4 separate regions of the Homo sapiens genome follow, and all the other regions are linked to region 2. Evidence: promoter capture Hi-C in 16 types of primary human blood cells and fetal thymus (Javierre and others, 2016). All regions are on one chromosome and are shown on one strand. The core of a region is centred on a gene start or on the middle of the fragment in contact, and the rest is flanking DNA. Distances in the headings are between cores, read along the strand shown. Region 1 holds the start of HPN-AS1 (HPN antisense RNA 1). Region 2 holds the start of FFAR3 (free fatty acid receptor 3). Region 3 holds the start of HAUS5 (HAUS augmin like complex subunit 5). Region 4 holds the start of GAPDHS (glyceraldehyde-3-phosphate dehydrogenase, spermatogenic).

Region 1 (3,795 bases), core at 1,105-3,604, 250 kb after region 2:
CCTCCCCATCCTGTTCTGTATGTTCTTCCCTGACACGAACGCATACGGCCTCCTGACAAACTATATAATTCATACTGGTGAGGCCTATTGTCTCTCTCTCCTCTGGAATCTCAGCTCCACCACGATGGAGAGATCTTGACCGTTCCACCCACTGCTGTTTCCCCAGCACTGAGCCCAGGGTCTGGCACATAGTAGGTGCTCAGGAAGTTTTTAATGAGTGGATGAATGAACGCCATTCTTTTTTTTTTTTTTTTTTTTGAGACGGAATTTCGCTCTTGTTGCCCAGGCTGGAGTGCAATGGCGTTATCTCAGCTCACTGCAATCTCCGCCTCCCGGGTTCAGGTGATTCTCCTGCCTCGGCCTCCCGAGTAGCTGGGATTACAGGCATGCACTACCACGCCTGGCTAATTTTGTATTTTTAGTAGAGACGGGGTTTCTCCATGTTGGCCAGGCTGGTCTCGAACTCCCTACCTCAGGTGATCTGCCCGCCTCAGCCTCCTAAAGTGCAATTTTTTTGTATTTTTAGTAGAGATGGGGTTTCTCCATGTTGGCCAGGCTGGTCTCGAACTCCTGACCTCAGGTGATCCACTCGCCTCGGCCTCCCAAAGTGCTGGAATTACAGGCGTGAGCCTCCATGCCCGGACTAATGAACACCATTGTTGAGAGTTACTATATATCCCAGGCCCCGCCACAGATGAATCAGACATGCCACCTCCTTAATTTGGCCACAGCTTTTTGGGAGCACACAGTAGGCCCACAGACAGAAAGGGAAGGGCTCAGAACCTGACAGCCTGGGTTCCAATCCTAGCACAGCCACTTTCTCCTTATGCGACATTAGGCAAGCAAGTCTGCCTTCCCGGGCCTCAGTTTCCCCATCTGTACCACTGGGATAATAGCAGTCCATCTGCTGTGCTGCCCTTTGGAGTCAATGGGCTCGTTGTGTGGGACGCTGACAGCATGACTAATTCTGAAAGCTGGTTCCCTTCCTGGAAGGGGGTGGAGTGGGAGGGGTGTGGCTGTGTGTTTTCCAATAGCCAACAATGGAACTCTTGTAGGCAGGGGCCCTCGGGCCTAGAAAACACATCCACCCCTGTGGGTTCTAGACAAAAGTTTCAGGTCTCAGAGTGGAGGTTTACCAGGGCATTTACACTCTTTGAAGATTGTTAAGAAGAAATACTGGTTTCGGGGGACATAGGGACACAGGGGTGGATTCCCATTTTGCCCTCTCTCCCTGCAAGAAGTAGCTGCCAGAGATGGGGGGTAGGGGCAGGATCTCTCCCACCTACAACTCCTGAGTAGGATTAGATAGGCTTAAGAAAACCTCTGGGCTGCACTGATTGGCTCAGTGGGGTTTAATCAAAGTGAAGCATTGGAATTTTTGTTGAGTACTTGGGGTAAGAAAAGATTCGGGTTTTGGACAATGGGGAATACACATTTAATGACTGGAAAATTGGCAGTTATTTTGCCATCACAAGAAAAGCCAGCCTGAGGACAAAGCTAATGCTATAGAGAAACACAGACCAAGAGAAATGCTGAAAAACTGAGTTAGCACCCTGATCAAACCATGCCTGATCTCCCTCTGGAATTTTCAGTTATGTAATTAGTCTAAAAATCATAAAACACAGTCTGTGACTGGTTTGAGTTACCTTTTATGAGGCTTTCTGTAACCAAAACAGCCAAAGTGGTATATAGGGAACTTCTGTGGACCCAGAATCTCTACACTTTCACTAGGCTATCACATGATTTTTACTTAGTTTGAGCCAATGTATTTCTTTTAGCTTCAATCGGTTCAAGAGTCTCTAGATGCCAATGAGTGCTTACCTCATCAGGTCGGGGCTCTCTCTGCAGACAAACCTGGGTCCCATGAACCTACATCTTTGAAATGAACACAATGGGACTGCTGGACTTGTTTCTCCTTCCCAATTTCCACCTTGAAAAGGCGCAATGAGCTGGAGGAGCCACAGGACTTGGTAAAAGCAGAAGCGCAAGTGCCTGGAAACTCAACACTCTTCCGGTCAAAGGAGGCGACGTGTGAGTGCATGGTTGCTTGATAAATGCCAGGGGAGAGTGGGTGGCACCCAAAGATGCCCCTGAGGGTCTCACATCTCTGCCCCGGCCCACAGGAGGACGGGGAGCAGCACACGGCGTGGGTGGAGGCCTGGCAGTGGCAGAATTGCTCACAGCGCTCCCCAGTCCAGAAGGCCTCCCCAGCCGGGTGGTGGTACCTGCCCCCCATGGAGCAGCTGCACTGGATTGGGGGCACGCAGTCCATGCCACTGAGCACAAAGCCTGGGTCACACTGGCAGCCATCCTGGCATGGTGTCAGGCAGCTGTCGGGCAGGGCAGGCTCGGCACAAGAGCTAGGACAGGAGGAGCCGCAGAGCTCGTAATTGCTGCGGGGAGGACAGGCCAGCTCTGGAAGAAAACAGGTAGGAGTTAAATAATTGAGCAAGCATTACTATTCTGGAGCATTTCCAACCAGAATAGGACCAAGGGAGCGGAGAGAGGGTTGTGGGGGCCAAGGGTAAGTCATAAAGGCAAAGGAGGGGAGGTGGAGGCATCATCAGGATGTAGCATAATGGTGGCGGCGTGGTCACGGCGGTGATAACGGTGGCGGCGTGGTCACGGCGGTGATAACGGTGGCGGCGTGGTCACGGCGGTGATAACGGTGGCGGCGTGGTCACGGCGGTGATTAACGGTGGCGGCGTGGTCACGGTGGTGATAATGCTGGTGGCGTGATCATGGTGGTGATAATGGTGGTGGTGGTGGTCGTGGTGATAGTAATGATGATGATGGTGGTAGGGCTGGTGATGTTGTTGGTGATGTGATGGTGTTGATGGTGATGGTAATGATAGCGGTGATGGTGACAGTGATGATAGTGGTGAGGGTGGTGGTGGTGGTGATGACAATAGTTGTGGTTGTGGTAACAATGATGGTGGTGGTAGTGATAATGGTGATGGTGATTATAGTAGTGATGGTGATGCTGATGCTGGTGGTGATGGTGATGCTGGTGGTGATGGTTATGATGGTGATGATGATGTTGATGGTGGTGGTGGTGGTGATGATGATGGTGATGGTGGTGATGGTGATGATGGTGGTGATGGTAGTGGTGATGATGGCTGTGGCTGTGGTAACAATGATGATGGTGATGGTGGTGATGGTTGTGGTTGTGGTAACAATGATGGTGGTGGTAGTGATGATGGTAATGCTTGTGGTGATGGTGGTGGTGGTGATGATGGTAATGCTGGTGGTGGTGGTGGTGGTGAGGCTGGTGGTGGTGGTGATGGTGACGCTGGTGGTGGTGGTGATGGTGACGGTAATGATGATAGTGACTGTGATGATGACAAAGGTGACGAAGATAGTGATGAAGAAACAACCTTGGTCATGCTGGGTCATGTTCAGGTTAGTTCGTTACTTCAGCATAACCCAGACCATCCTGACTGATGCAATAGCACTCAGTGTCATCTGTTATTGTTATTGCAGAGTTTTAAGCAGGTAGGTTCTTCGCGGGAACAGTTAGCCAGAAAGGCATGCAGTGGGTCACTTTGGGTGGTGTTGACCTAGGAGGACATCCTGGAAGTGGTATTGGGCCAGCTGGGGAGGTCAGGCTGAGAAAGACCCTCCCTGGGAATACCCACTTACTGCAGGCCAAGAGGTGTCTCCAGGGCTGCATGGGAACGCTGCGCTGCTGGCTTTCCTGGGCGTAGCTCCCCAGTATGGCACACAGAGTCTCTCTTGAGCCCCCCGTGGCACAGAGGTCATGGATGCAGTTCTCCACATGCACCTGGGGATCCA
Region 2 (4,167 bases), core at 653-3,152:
TCATCCCTGGAGCCCTGTCTCCCCCGCTCCTGACTCGCTGGCTGGGAGCAGCTCTGAGGATGGGGTTCTCCCCTCTCCTGCCCCTGCCACTCACTGGGCAGCCCCCTCAGACCCTGGGCACTGCTCTTAGCTCCTCTGCCACCCTCAAGAAAACACAGGAGCTGCCTGCTGCTATGAGGACCTCATTGTTCTCCAGAGCAGCCTCTCACCCTGACCCCTTCCCAGAGCCCAATCCATAGTGTGTGGGTGGATGGGGATGGAGGTGAGATCGAGAGCTGGGCTTTAGCGCGCATACCCTTAGGGAGGCTAGATGTCTACTCTGCCCCCAAGCCCCATCGGGCCCCAGCTCGCCACTCCAAGTCCCTCCTGGCGTGAGCGAGGAAGCGCCCTGAGGATGACATGCCAGCTACACCCTCCTCCCCCGGAGGACCTAGCTTTCAGCACAGGCCACCTGGCCACCAGTTCCACAGCCCTGTGAGTGTTCACTGGTCTTTCTTTCAGCTGGTCGGTCCGCTCTCTGCTCCTCCCCTCCCTTCTGCTCCTTCAGCTCCATGCTGCTCTCCTGCTGCCACTGGCCCCAGAGCCCACACAACCTCCTCAGCAGCTCATGAAAGTCGGCTTGGAACCCGGAGGAGGAGAAGTAGTAGACAAAGGGGTCGACACAGGAGTTCAGGGTGCTGAGAAGCGTCACGTAGATCCTCCACGCCGGGCTTTCACCGCAGATATAGCCCACGACATGGGACACGTTGTAGGGCCCAAAGCAGACAAGGAAGTTGAGCAGCGTGGCCGCCAACAGCCCCGCCACCCTCCTCTGCCGGCGGTGGCTGCCCCCTCTGCCGAGGATCCACACCAGGCGGCTGTAGCAGTAGCTGGTGATGATCAGCGGGACCACAAAGAGGACCACAGCCATCTCCAGCCGCACGGGCAGGAGGATGGCTAGCTGGTCCTTCCGGAACTCCAGGTAGCAGGTCCCATTGGTGCCCTGGCTGTGGGAGATGTCCCCTGAGAATTCTATGACGTAGACCACGCTGCAGTGAGCAGAGGCCAACAGCCAGCAGGCCACACTCACCAGACCTGCCTGCCCCAGCCTCGGCCGGGTCTTGTACCACAGTGGGTGGGCCACACTCAGGAAGCGTTCAATGCTCACAGCTGCCAGGAAGAGGGCGGTGAGATAGATGGTGGTGAAGAAGATGAATCCAGAGAGTGGGCAGAGGATGAAGGGCAGGGGCCAGTGCATGCCATTGGCTGCCTCCACCATGCGGAAAGGCAGGAACAGCAGCAGGAGCAGGTCCGAGGCGGTCAGGTTGAGCAGGAGCACGTCCACGGCCACCGGGCGGCGCTGCAGCTTGCCCACGAAGACCACCAGGGCCAGCAGGTTGAGGGGGAGCCCCACCAGGAAAGTGAGAAGGTACACCGAGAAGACGAACCAGTGATTGCCGGAGAAGTAGGACTGGTCGGGGCCTGTATCCATGGTGGTGGCCACTGGTGAGAGAGAGTAACATGGAGTTGGTAGTGGGGGCCCTAACGGCCTCTGGCCAGCAGCATCTCCCCTAAAAGGGCACGAGGTCACTACGCCCACCCCTCTTGTCTCTGGGTGCCTTCCAGGCGGGGTCAGCCTGCCTGTCTTCCTGAGCATGCCCTGTCCCCTGTCCCTTCCCCAGCAGAGAAGCACCAAGGTGCTCCTCCACCCAGCCCCTCGGGCCCAGGCTCACCTGCTTCTTTGAGACCCCAAATGCTCTGCCGCACAGCACCTTGCTGTCTCTCCAGACCTAGTGCAGTTGGCTATTTATCCGGCAGAACTGATAAAGACCTGGCCGTGCCCATGACGTCACTCACTGTTGAGCAGTGGCACATAGATGCCTTGAGCTCCGTTGCCAGGGCTGGTCAGCATGCTAAAAGGGGAACAAATTCCACAACTGCGTGCCTCCCTCCTCATGCAGTCTCAGCTGGGATGCTCTAAGCAGGCCCCAGCCGACGTCTTCCTCTCCCCTTCTTCACTTGAATTTTGTCTGCTTCTCTAGAATGGCATTTATCCAATTTGCCTTGTAAGGGCAGGAAGTGTGATGCAATGACAGAGAGCGAGCTCCGTGAGGTCTGTTTCTTCCTGACTTTGTGATTTGGGGGAAATGACTTAAATTCTCCATGTTTCTGCTTTCTCCCCTGCAGAACAGAGCTCATCATAATACCCATCTCATAGATCAACGCATTAACACATGCAAATTAAAACAATATGTAGGTCGATTAAAAGATTACTAATACATGTTGAGTGGTTTGACGGAAGCCTGGCGTGTGGTCGTGAGCAGGCAGCGGATGCCAGCTGCTATTTTCCCTGTCACTGGTGCAGGATTATCTCTGGGGTGACAATGTAATAATAATAACAATAATAATGGTGGTGGCGATGATGACAGCAGCTGCCTTTTCATGGGCACATAATCCATAGCAGACACTGCTTCTAGGGCAACGCTTTTATGTCATAAAATCCTTGTCCTTCACCGTAGGGAAGTGACTTGCTCCAGGTGATACAGCTTGTGAAATGTCACCACTAGGGTTCAAACCCAAGTGCTGTCCAGTTTCACAGGTGATCTATTAGTTCATTCAAACAATCACAGGGCACAATGAGATATGATTTCACATCCACTAGAATGGCCACAAGCAAAAAGTCAGACAATGCCTATGGTCGGCGAGAATGTAGAGAGATAGGGGCCTCATTCACTGCTGGTGAGAATAATGGGAGGTGGTGTCCCTGCTTTGGAAAGCAGGTGGCAGTTGCTTAAAAAGTTAAACATAAATTCACCATGCGATCCAACAATTCCACCGTAGGTATTTACTTAAGAGAAGTGGAAACTCAGGTCTACTTAAAGACTCAGTCCTAAATGTTCACAGCAGTGTTGGTCATAGTCACCAACAGTGGAAATGTTACCTGGCAGCCCATCAGCTGGTGAGTGAATAAAAAAGTGGCACATCCATATACTGGAATTCTATTTGGCAAAGAAAAGGAATGAGCTACCCATACACACTACAGCCTTATGTTGAGTGAAACAAGCCAGACGTAAAAGACCATGTACATATATTGTCAGATTTCATTTATTTATATGATATGTCCAGAATAGGCAAAGTTATAGAGTCAGAAAGTAGACTCGTGGTTGTCTGGGGGATGGAGGTAGAAATGAAGATTAAGTTGTTTTTTTTTTTTTTTTTTTTTTTTTGAGACAGGGTCTTGTTGTCGCCCAGGCTGGAGTGCAATGGTGCAATCTTGGCTCACTGCAAACTCTGCCTCCCGGGTTCAAGAAATTCTCATGCCTCAGCTTCCTAAGTAGCTAGGATTACAGGTGCCCGCCACCACGCCTGGCTAATTTTTGTATGTTTAGTAGAGATGAGGTTTCGCCATGTTGGCCAGGCTGGTCTCGAACTACTGACCTCAGGTGATCCGTCCACCCCAGCCTCCCAAAATGCTGAGATTATAGGCGTGAGCCACCCCGCCTGGCCCAAGATTAAGTTTAAATGAACATGAAGTAAAATCCTTTACTAGGGTCATGAAAATGTTCTAAAACTAGCTGATGGTAATGGACTCACACCTCAGTAAATTTACTAAAAATCATTGAATTGTACACTTAACATTGGTGAATTTGATGATATGTACATAATATCTCAATTAAGCTGTTAAAAGTGCAGCAGTAGGCTGGGTACGGTGGCTCAGGTCCGTAATTTTAGCACTTTGGCAGGCTGAGGTGGGAGGATTGCTTGAGCACAGGTTGTTTGAGACTAGCCTGGGCAACATGAGGAGACCCTATGTCCACAGGGGAAAAAAAAAAAAAAAAGAGAGAAAGAAAAAAGAAATTAGCTGGGTTTAGTGGCATGTGCCTCTGGTCCCAGCTACTTGGGAAGCTGAAATGGAAGAATCGCTTGAGCCCAGGAATTCAAGGCTGCAGTGAGCCATGACTGTGTCACTGCACTCCATCCTGAGCAACAGAGTGAGACTGTGTCTAAAAAAAAAAAAAAAAAAAAAAAACAACACGCAGTTGTGAACAAAAAGTTTTTGCTGTCATGCTGTTTACATTACATTTGGTGGTGAGGGCTTGGGGGATGGAGTAGGGGAAGGATCATGAAGACGTGGATACTGAAGAGGCAAAGAGCCACTGGAGGGAACATTGGGGCAGGGGAGTCACG
Region 3 (3,844 bases), core at 1,210-3,709, 250 kb before region 2:
TTCCCGCCCCACATTCTGGTGCCCATCTTCTGGCCCCATGGCTCACCCTGAGCCTCAGTGTCTCGCTCCATCAGCTCCAGGCTCTGGTCGAGTTCCTGGATTTCTGCCCGCAGGCGGGTCACAGCAGCTTCCAGCTCTAACTTCCGACGGACCTGGGAGGATCAGATTCAGGGTCAGATGGTCTGATCGGGGCTCAGCCTGGCCTGTCTTTTGGGGGTACCAGGCTCCTCAACTGGTGGCAGAGGGTTTTTGCTCAGCAGTTTCTGTGTCTGACACAGAAGCATTAGGGTATTGGCTCCCTCCCTCCTTCCTCCTAGGATTGTCTTACCCACACTTCCAGCCTGTTTCCTGTCTGTGCTGGTGACAACCACATCTTTGTCCCAGTACTGATCTCTTCCCGGAGCCCTGCACCTAGAAGTCCCAAGGCCTCCTGGAAGCCTCCCCTTAGGTGTCATATGAGCCCCTTGCACCCATTGGGTCCCACACTGGCCTCAGCATCTCTCCCATACCTGTCCCATCATCTCTTCTCACCAGCTTTGATGCCACATATCCAGGTCCCACCTCTCTGCGCCCAGCTAATTAATGCTCTTTATTTATTTTTTCTTTTTTTGAGATAGAGTCTCGCTCTATTGCCCAGGCTGGAGTGCAGTAGTGCGATCTCAGCTCACTGCAACCTCTGCCTCCCAGGTTCAAGCGATTCTCCTGCCTCAGCCTCCCAAGTAGCTAGGATTACAGGCGTGTGCCACCACGCCTGGCTAATTTTTTATTTTTATTAGAGACAGGGCTTCACCGTGTTGGCCAGGCTGGTCTCGAACTCCTGACCTCAGGTGATCCGCCTCCCAAACCACATCTTTGTCCCAGTACTGATCGCTTCCTGGAGCCCTCAGGTGATCTCATCACCTGAGATGAGGCCTCAGGTGAGCCTCCCAAAGTGCTGGGATTACAGGTGTGAGCCACTGCACCTGGCTGAGCTAATGCTGTTTCCACTGGACTTTAAGCCCTATGAGGATGGAGATCAAGGCTGTCTTGTGACCCATTGTCCCCAGCATCACCCAGCACCTGGTTGGGCTTAGAGCAGAAGATCTACAAGTCATTTTTCGGATGAAAGAGAATCTTGTAGCATATGCTTCTCACCTGTGGACTGTCCTGGTGGCCATACCTAGGAAAACGAGGCCAGAGTCAGCGGATGAGTGGGGCTTCTAGGGGGGAGGGCAATAGGTGTGATGCTGTGGTGGGGACAGGGCTAAATGGGAGTGGGGAAGACAGGAGGGGATAGCTTTAAGAAGCAGTTACCAGAGTAGGTTTCCCCGGATCTTCTTGACAGTCCTACAGTGCAGAGGCAGAAAGAGGAGTTACTATGGGCCTCACCTGTGCCCCCTCCCCTGCTCTAGCCCAGCTTACCTCTGACTGTGCACATGCTGCAAGATGTAGGCCCAGATGTCAGCCCCCTGGCCCAGACACAGCCTGTGGGGACAGTGTGTAAGCATATGCCTGGGGCAGCACACAGGGTGTGGGATCCTCATTCCTAGGGTGATGGTGGTAGGGAGTTTTTACTAGGGAGTTCTCACTTCTTGAGGAGGGAAGGCCCAAACTTTTTTTTGCCTTTTTTTTTTTTTTTTTTTTAAGAGACAGTCTCGCTCTGTCGCAGTGGTACGATCATAGCTCCTTGCAGCCTCAACCTCCTGGGCTCATGCGATCCTCCCACCTCAGCCTCCAGAGTAGCTAGGACTACAGGCAGGCACCACTACACCCGGCTAATTGGTAAAACATTTTTTTTGTAGGGACTGGATGTTTGCACTAAGTGTGGTGTTATTCTCATTCCCTGGGAAGGCGGGTGGTGGGGGAGCGCGGGAGAGGCGGGTGCTCCCTTTCTCCTGGGAGTGGGTTATCCCAGTCACATCCAGAGGTGGAGGTGGGGGATGTACTGCCAGGAAGTGCCATCTCATGACCAGACGTGGGGCATCACTCCTACAGCTTCAATCCCCGATGGGGTGGCCACGGCTAACTCCTGAGTGTCCTTCTTGGTTAGGTTAAGGGAGGGAGGGGAGGTGCTGCGGGGACAGCCTCACTCTGGAGATCCTATTTCCATAAGGAGCGAGGTCTTAGCTAACTCGTGGAGGATCCTCACCAGTGCTAGGGACCTCACTCTGGGGAGCCTCCCAGGGTAGGGAGCCCTCAGTAAGTCGGGTCACTCTCGATGGGGAATTGGGGGGAGTCGAGTCCTCAATGAGGGGTGGAGTTCTCACTCCCGGAGACTCAATCTCCAGGGTGGGGTGTCCTCACTCCAGGAGCGGTCCTCACCTGCGCAGCGTCGATTCCGGGGCCCGGGCCGCCACGGGCACCCCCATCTCTTCGACCGCCCAGCAACCCAGTTCCCGCGCTTCCTGCGCTAGCTCCATGACAGCGCCGCGGCGGCGACACCGCCTCCCTCAGCCTCTTCAAGTGTGGCGCCCGCCTCTGACGTCACGGGCGCGCCAACAGTGACGTCATCGGTTGCCGGGCAGACAGCGGGCTCGGGCGCTGCATAGTAATCTTAGCGCGGTCAGGCTGGGTCTTGCAGCGCTCACTCTTCCCAGGTAGGTCTCCTTGAGTGGAAATGAAAAGGGCGTGGAGAGACTGCAGCCCCGCCCGCCTTCCCTCGTTCTCCCGCTCACTACCAGCTAACCCGAAAGAGGCAAAACAGTCCTTGATGCTTCCATTTATTTTCTTTTTCTTCTTTTAACTAAACACTTTTATTTTAATAGAGATGGGATCTCACTTGTTGCCCAGGCTAGTCTCAGCTTCTGGGCTCTTGAACTCCTGGGCTCAAGCGATCCTCCCGCCTCGGCCTCCCAAAATGTTGGGATTACAGGCGTGAGCCACCACGCTCACCCCCTTTATTTTCTTGACAAAATGGGACTTGCGTCCTAGGAGGACTGGAACCAGGCAATGAGATCCTGGACTTACTGCTCTTTGATTTCAGAAACAGGTGTCTCATGTCTGAGTGGAGGGTAGGGGCAGAGAGCATGACCCTAACATTTCCCTGGCATGCGTTTTCCCATTCATTCGTGCTTACCATTCCATAAACTCAGGGAGCTGACCCTGTGCTGGGTGATGCTGGGGACACCATGGTGACCACAACAGCCCTGGTCCCTATTGTACGGAGCTCACAGTTGAGTGGGGAGACAGACGCACCACCAGGTAGGGGTGGTAAAAATAAGCAGCAGGGGTGGGTCAATTTGGGACACAGCAGGTGTGAGAGGTCTGCGCTAGACCAGCAGTCCCCAACCTTTTGAGCATCAGGGACTGGTTTCATGGAAGACAATTTTTCCACAGTCTGGGGGATGGAGGGTGGGAGCAGTGGATGGTTTCGGGATGAAACTGTTCCACTTCAGGTCGTGAGGCATTATATTCTCTGTCTCTCTCTCTCTTTTTTTTTTTCTTCCCTGTTTTTTTTTTTGAGGTGAAGTCTCCCTCTTTCACCCAGGCTGGAGTGCAGTGGCCCGATCTCGGCTCAGCGCAATCTTTGCCTCCGGGGTTCAAGCGATTCTACTGCCTCAGCCTCCTGAGTAGCTGGGATTACAGGCGCCCGCTACCATGCCCAGCTAATTTTTGTATTTTTAGTAGAGACGGGGTTTCACCATGTTGGCCAGGCTGGTCTTGAACTCCTGACCTTAAGTGATCAGCCCATCTCAGCCTCCCAAAGTGCTAGCATTACAGGTGTGAGCCACCATGCCCCGCCTAAGCATTAGATTCTCATAAGGAGTGCGCAATCTAGATCCTTCGTATGCACAGTTCACAATAGGGTTTGCGCTCCTGTAAGAATCTAATGCCGCTCCTGATCTGGCAGGAGGTGGAGCTCAGG
Region 4 (4,286 bases), core at 447-2,946, 170 kb before region 2:
TTCAAGCTGGAAAGTCAAGCCTGGCTCAGTCCACACAGACCTGCTGCTCTGTGGATTTGAGCAAGTTAATGAACCTCTTGGGGCTGATCCCCCACCTAGGGGCTGCTGTGAGGGCGCAGTGAGATCTCGAGGCCCACACATAGGAGCTGATTTTAATAGAGGAGGGAAGTCTGATCCTACACAGATTCCTGAGGAAAGGGAGACAGCAGGGGGTGGAGAAGGGCTGGAAGGGGGTAGTGGGAGTCCAAGTTTTTGGCACCAAATCAAAGGCACCTGGGGGGTGGTGGGGCTGGGAGCCGGGGGCCAGCTGGCCTGTCTGTCTCCCTGACCTCTCCCTGTTGCCACAGACCTTGTGGCCTGAGGCTGGACTATAGGTGTTTCCAGTGGCTGTCCAAGTTCATGAAGGTGTTAGTGTTTATTGGTGAACTTGAGGATGTTTGCATCCTTGGGGGTTGTTTCTGCTATGGGAGAAAGGGGATTTGTCCACCTGGTTCAGGTGGGAATCTGAGCCCAATGGGTGACCCTTCCGAAGAAAACTCAGATGGTCCTCCTCTCCCAGCACTCCCAGCCTTGCACTCTCTTCCCCTCCACTGTAGGGGTGGGGTCCCCCGGTTGGAGAAAAGCCTGGGGGCTAGCTGGGTGCTGCCCCCAGCTCCTCACTGCGTCCTCCCACTGAATCCCGAGAGGCATGCGCTATAAACCCACTTTACAGAGGGGAAAATGAAGCCTGAGGCCACGGAGCAGTGATGCGCAGGGCAGGGGTTCAAGTCTCATGAGGCTGGTAAGCCTGTCTGCTCCTGTGTCTTCCAGGGTCTCCTGGACCAAAGCCCCAGCCCCACCTACCCCTGCGGCCCCCGCCCTTGGGAAGTGAGGGAACAGTGTGGGAATGGAGGCAGCCCACCGGAAGACCTGGTTCCTCCGGCTAGAGTGAGTGAGTGAGTGTGTGTGTGTGTGTGTGCGCGCGCGCGGGCGCGCCGCCCTTGTTGAGAGACTAAGGAAGTAGTTTGCCCTCTCTTAACCTCTGTTGGCCGCTCTGTAAACTGCGGGCACACTCTGGCCTTCTCAGGTGGTGGTGAGGCTTCCCTGAGCTCTCGCCTGCGAAGTGGTCAGCACGTCCCCGGCAAGGTTCCAAGTGTCCTTGTTTTGTGCATCACAGGGAGGGCAAAGCTCACCTCACGCGAAGCGCCATGAACATCACTTTTACATGGAAGCCCAGCACCCCTGGGTTCTCCCTAAGCCCCTCCTAAGCCCGCCCACTTCCCGCCACTTTCAGGCTGCAGCCTCCGATGGCCCTCGTTTCTGCTCTTTCTACCGCGTGATAGCGGCGCGAAGCCCACCCAGCCCTGGGGGCGGAGGCCCGGTCTCCCCGCCATGGCAGTAAACCCCACTCTGCCAGCACACTGGCGGGTGTGGAGGGAGGGAGAGCGGCTGATCCCCTGGTCCCTAGATGGTGCACACGCCAGGAAGGGCGGTAGGGATACGGCACAGGTGTGAGGGTGCAGACGCTCCCCACTACCCTTTCCACCCCTCCCCCGCGCCCTCCGCTGCCTCCCTCACCCGGGCACGGCTGTCGCAGCAACTGGACAACGGTGACATTGGTGAGGACGATGTCGCGCTTCGACATGGCCTCTTATAAGGTTATCATTGGCCTGGACCTGCTGTGATGTTACCGAGGTGCGTGCGGAGCGCCAGGGCTGTGGGTCCTGGGCTAATTGCCCTGATGTCACAGCACCCAGTGACGTCACAGTACCCAGTGACGTCGCCGAGGGGCGGCGCCCAAGCCAGAGGCCTGACACCATCGCATCCCATCCCCGTAGAGGCATGGGACGTCAGCACGCTATGCATCACCGTTCCACGGCCACGCACTGCCGTCTGGAATGGAATCCCACTTTTTAAAATTATCATTTGTTTATTTATTTTGAGACGGGGTGTCACTCTTTCTCCTAGGCTGGAGTGCAGTGGTGCAATCATGGCTCACTGCAGCCTTGAACTCCTGGGCTCAAGCGATCCTCCCGCCTCGGCCTCCTGAGTAGCTGGGACTACATGTGCAGCCACCACTGCAGGCTATTTTTACTTTTTATTTTTTTGTAGAGAGAGGGTCTCACTCTTTTGCTCAGGCTGGTCTAGAACCCTTGGGCTCAAGCGATCCTCCCACCTCGGCCTTCCAAAATGCTGGGATTACAGGAGCGAGCCACCACACCCAGCCTGGAATCCCACCTTTTACACTGTTCCTGAAAGCCCTTTCCTCTTCTCTGTCTCTTGAAGCACACAGGTTCCATGCTGTCCCTTGGATTCTCCAGTGGAGTGACTCTTGCTGCCTCCGTATGCCTGGAAGGCCCACCCAGGGCTTCCCTTGGCTGCCTCTTGGTTTCCCACCCTTTAAGAGAGGCTTTCTACACTCTGCATCTAAGTTCCCTCCTTTCTCTGTCACTGTCAGCCGTCACCCCCTTCCCAATTTCTGCCCATCTTCCAGGAAGCCTTGTCTGACTTCTCCATTCTGAGTTATGCTTCAGTGTGCAAAATTTCTCTAGGGCTACACTGTCTATGTTTTTATTTTCCTTAGAGCACATGTCTCTCTAAAAATTGTTTGTTTTCTTGCCAACTGTCTCTGTCCACCAGACTGTAAGCTCTGAGAGGACAGGGACGTCATCTATGTCACTTCTGTATCCCATTGACAAGAAAAGTGTTTGGCACCTGAAAGGTGTTTGTGGGCTGGACGCAGTGGCTCATGCCTGTAATCCCAACACTTTGGGAGGCTGAGGTGGGAGGATCATTTGAGTCCAGGAGTTTGAGACCAACATGGGCAATGTGGCAAAACCCTGTATCTACAAAAAATAAAAAAAGTAGCCAGGTGTGGTGGTGCATGCCTGTTGTCCCAATTATTAGGGAGGCTGAGGTGGGAGGATCACTTGAGCCTAGGAGGTCAAGGCTGCAGTGAGCTGTGATTGTGTCACTGCACTCCAGCTGGGAGACAGAGCAAGACCCTGTCTGAAAAAGGCGTTAGCCCAATAAACTATACCTGAATGAATAAATGTCAATTCCTCAGGTTTCATCTGATCGCTAATCTTTTCTTTTCTTTTCTTTTTTTTGAGACAGAGTTTCGCTCTTGTTGCCTAGGCTGGAGTGCAATGGTGCGATCTCAGCTCACCGCAACCTCCGCCTCCTGGGTTCAAGTGATTCTCCCGCCTCAGCCTCCTGAGTAGCTGGGACTACAGGCGTGCGCCACTACACCTAGCTAATTTTTTTTTTGTTTTTGTATTTTTAGTAGAGACGGGGTTTCACCATGTTGGCCAGGCTGATCTCAAACTCCTGACCTCAGGTGATCCATCTGCCTCGGCCTCCCAAAGTGGTGGGATTACAGGCGTGAACCACCTCGCCCGGCCCTGATCGCCAATCTTATCAAACTCTTCACGTTATATCTTCTCGCAGCACCCATTCTTTTCCTTGTAGCTTTTCATGTAGTTTGTCATGATCTACTGATTGGTTTATTTGTTCGATGTCTCCCCCTTGGGCTCTAAGCCCCTCACAGGGCTCCTGTTCTTGTTTGTTTGTTCACGACTGTGCCTCCAGCACTTAGAACAATACAAAGCAGGTTTTCAATGAACGTCTGACAAAGAACAAGTGGACAAACAGCTCCCTCCCCTGCAGCCCCGGGGTAGGGGTTTGCTTGCACCTCAGTGACTCACAGGCAGGCACCATCACCTGCACAGCAGGTTGACACGCAGCTGTGACCAAGGTTCAGGGGGAGTGGGGGTTTGTGCCAGGAAGGAGTCACCATCCCAGAGAGGGATGGATGCAAGAAGGGGCAGAATGACATAACCTCTTCCTTCCGCCAACATCCATGAGAAATTCATTTGCCAAGCACCTGCCATGGGACCAGGGCAGGGTGAGGCTCTCCTGCTTTGATGGCCTGGGAGAAGAAAGTAAACTAAGTGTACAGGTGAGGAGGTTTTAACGAACCGAGACCAAAACACAGATGATTAATTAAACAAAGGGAGCTACATTTTGGTGTACAATCAAGGAGGTGAAAAATATAACCTCAACAAAACCAGGATTCAAAAGGGGCTGATTTTGGCTGGGTGCAGTGGCTCACACATGTAATCCCAGCACTTTGGGAGGCCGAGGCAGGTAGACCACCTGAGGTCAGGAGTTTGAGACCAGCCTGGCCAACATGGTGAAACTCCATCTCTACTAAAAATACAAAAATTAGCCAGGTGTAGTGGCATGCATCTGTAATCCTAGCTACTCGGGAGGCTGAGGCAGGCGAATCACTTGAACCTGGGAGG

What was found. Contacts are between HindIII fragments. The CHiCAGO score rates a contact against its expected background, and 5 or more counts as called.
Region 1: a contact is called between the fragment with the promoter of HPN-AS1 here and the fragment with the promoter of FFAR3 in region 2, in 10 of 17 cell types (naive CD8 T cells, naive B cells, total B cells and 7 more). The highest score is 12.2, in naive CD8 T cells.
Region 3: the fragment with the promoter of HAUS5 here is called in contact with the fragment with the promoter of FFAR3 in region 2 in 9 of 17 cell types (M0 macrophages, M1 macrophages, naive B cells and 6 more); the score reaches 10.0 in M0 macrophages.
Region 4: a contact is called between the fragment with the promoter of GAPDHS here and the fragment with the promoter of FFAR3 in region 2, in 17 of 17 cell types (M1 macrophages, M0 macrophages, M2 macrophages and 14 more). The highest score is 17.2, in M1 macrophages.

What each region holds. Positions count from the first base shown.
Region 1 is chr19:35,104,863-35,108,657 of GRCh38, reverse strand. It overlaps HPN-AS1 (HPN antisense RNA 1), which reads left to right and starts at 2,354. Exons shown (of 4, transcript NR_024562.1): 1 at 2,354-2,429. It overlaps LOC124904701 (hepatitis A virus cellular receptor 1-like), which reads right to left. Exons shown (of 3, transcript XR_007067238.1): 2 at 1,822-3,795. The HindIII fragment of the contact is 15,680 bases long and covers 1-3,795 here.
Region 2 is chr19:35,356,195-35,360,361 of GRCh38, reverse strand. It overlaps FFAR3 (free fatty acid receptor 3), which reads right to left and starts at 1,902. Exons shown (of 2, transcript NM_005304.5): 1 at 1,713-1,902; 2 at 1-1,482. The coding sequence starts at 1,471. The coding sequence ends at 431. RefSeq lists an enhancer at 54-581. The HindIII fragment of the contact is 8,969 bases long and covers 1-4,167 here.
Region 3 is chr19:35,611,350-35,615,193 of GRCh38, reverse strand. It overlaps HAUS5 (HAUS augmin like complex subunit 5), which reads right to left and starts at 2,459. Exons shown (of 19, transcript NM_015302.2): 1 at 2,302-2,459; 2 at 1,402-1,464; 3 at 1,294-1,326; 4 at 1,135-1,159; 5 at 47-152. The coding sequence starts at 2,399. It overlaps HAUS5-DT (HAUS5 divergent transcript), which reads left to right and starts at 2,530. Exons shown (of 2, transcript NR_186318.1): 1 at 2,530-2,576. RefSeq lists enhancers at 2,322-2,581, 2,170-2,725. The HindIII fragment of the contact is 7,658 bases long and covers 1-3,844 here.
Region 4 is chr19:35,530,866-35,535,151 of GRCh38, reverse strand. It overlaps GAPDHS (glyceraldehyde-3-phosphate dehydrogenase, spermatogenic), which reads right to left and starts at 1,696. Exons shown (of 11, transcript NM_014364.5): 1 at 1,558-1,696. The coding sequence starts at 1,624. RefSeq lists an enhancer at 710-839. The HindIII fragment of the contact is 5,250 bases long and covers 1-4,286 here.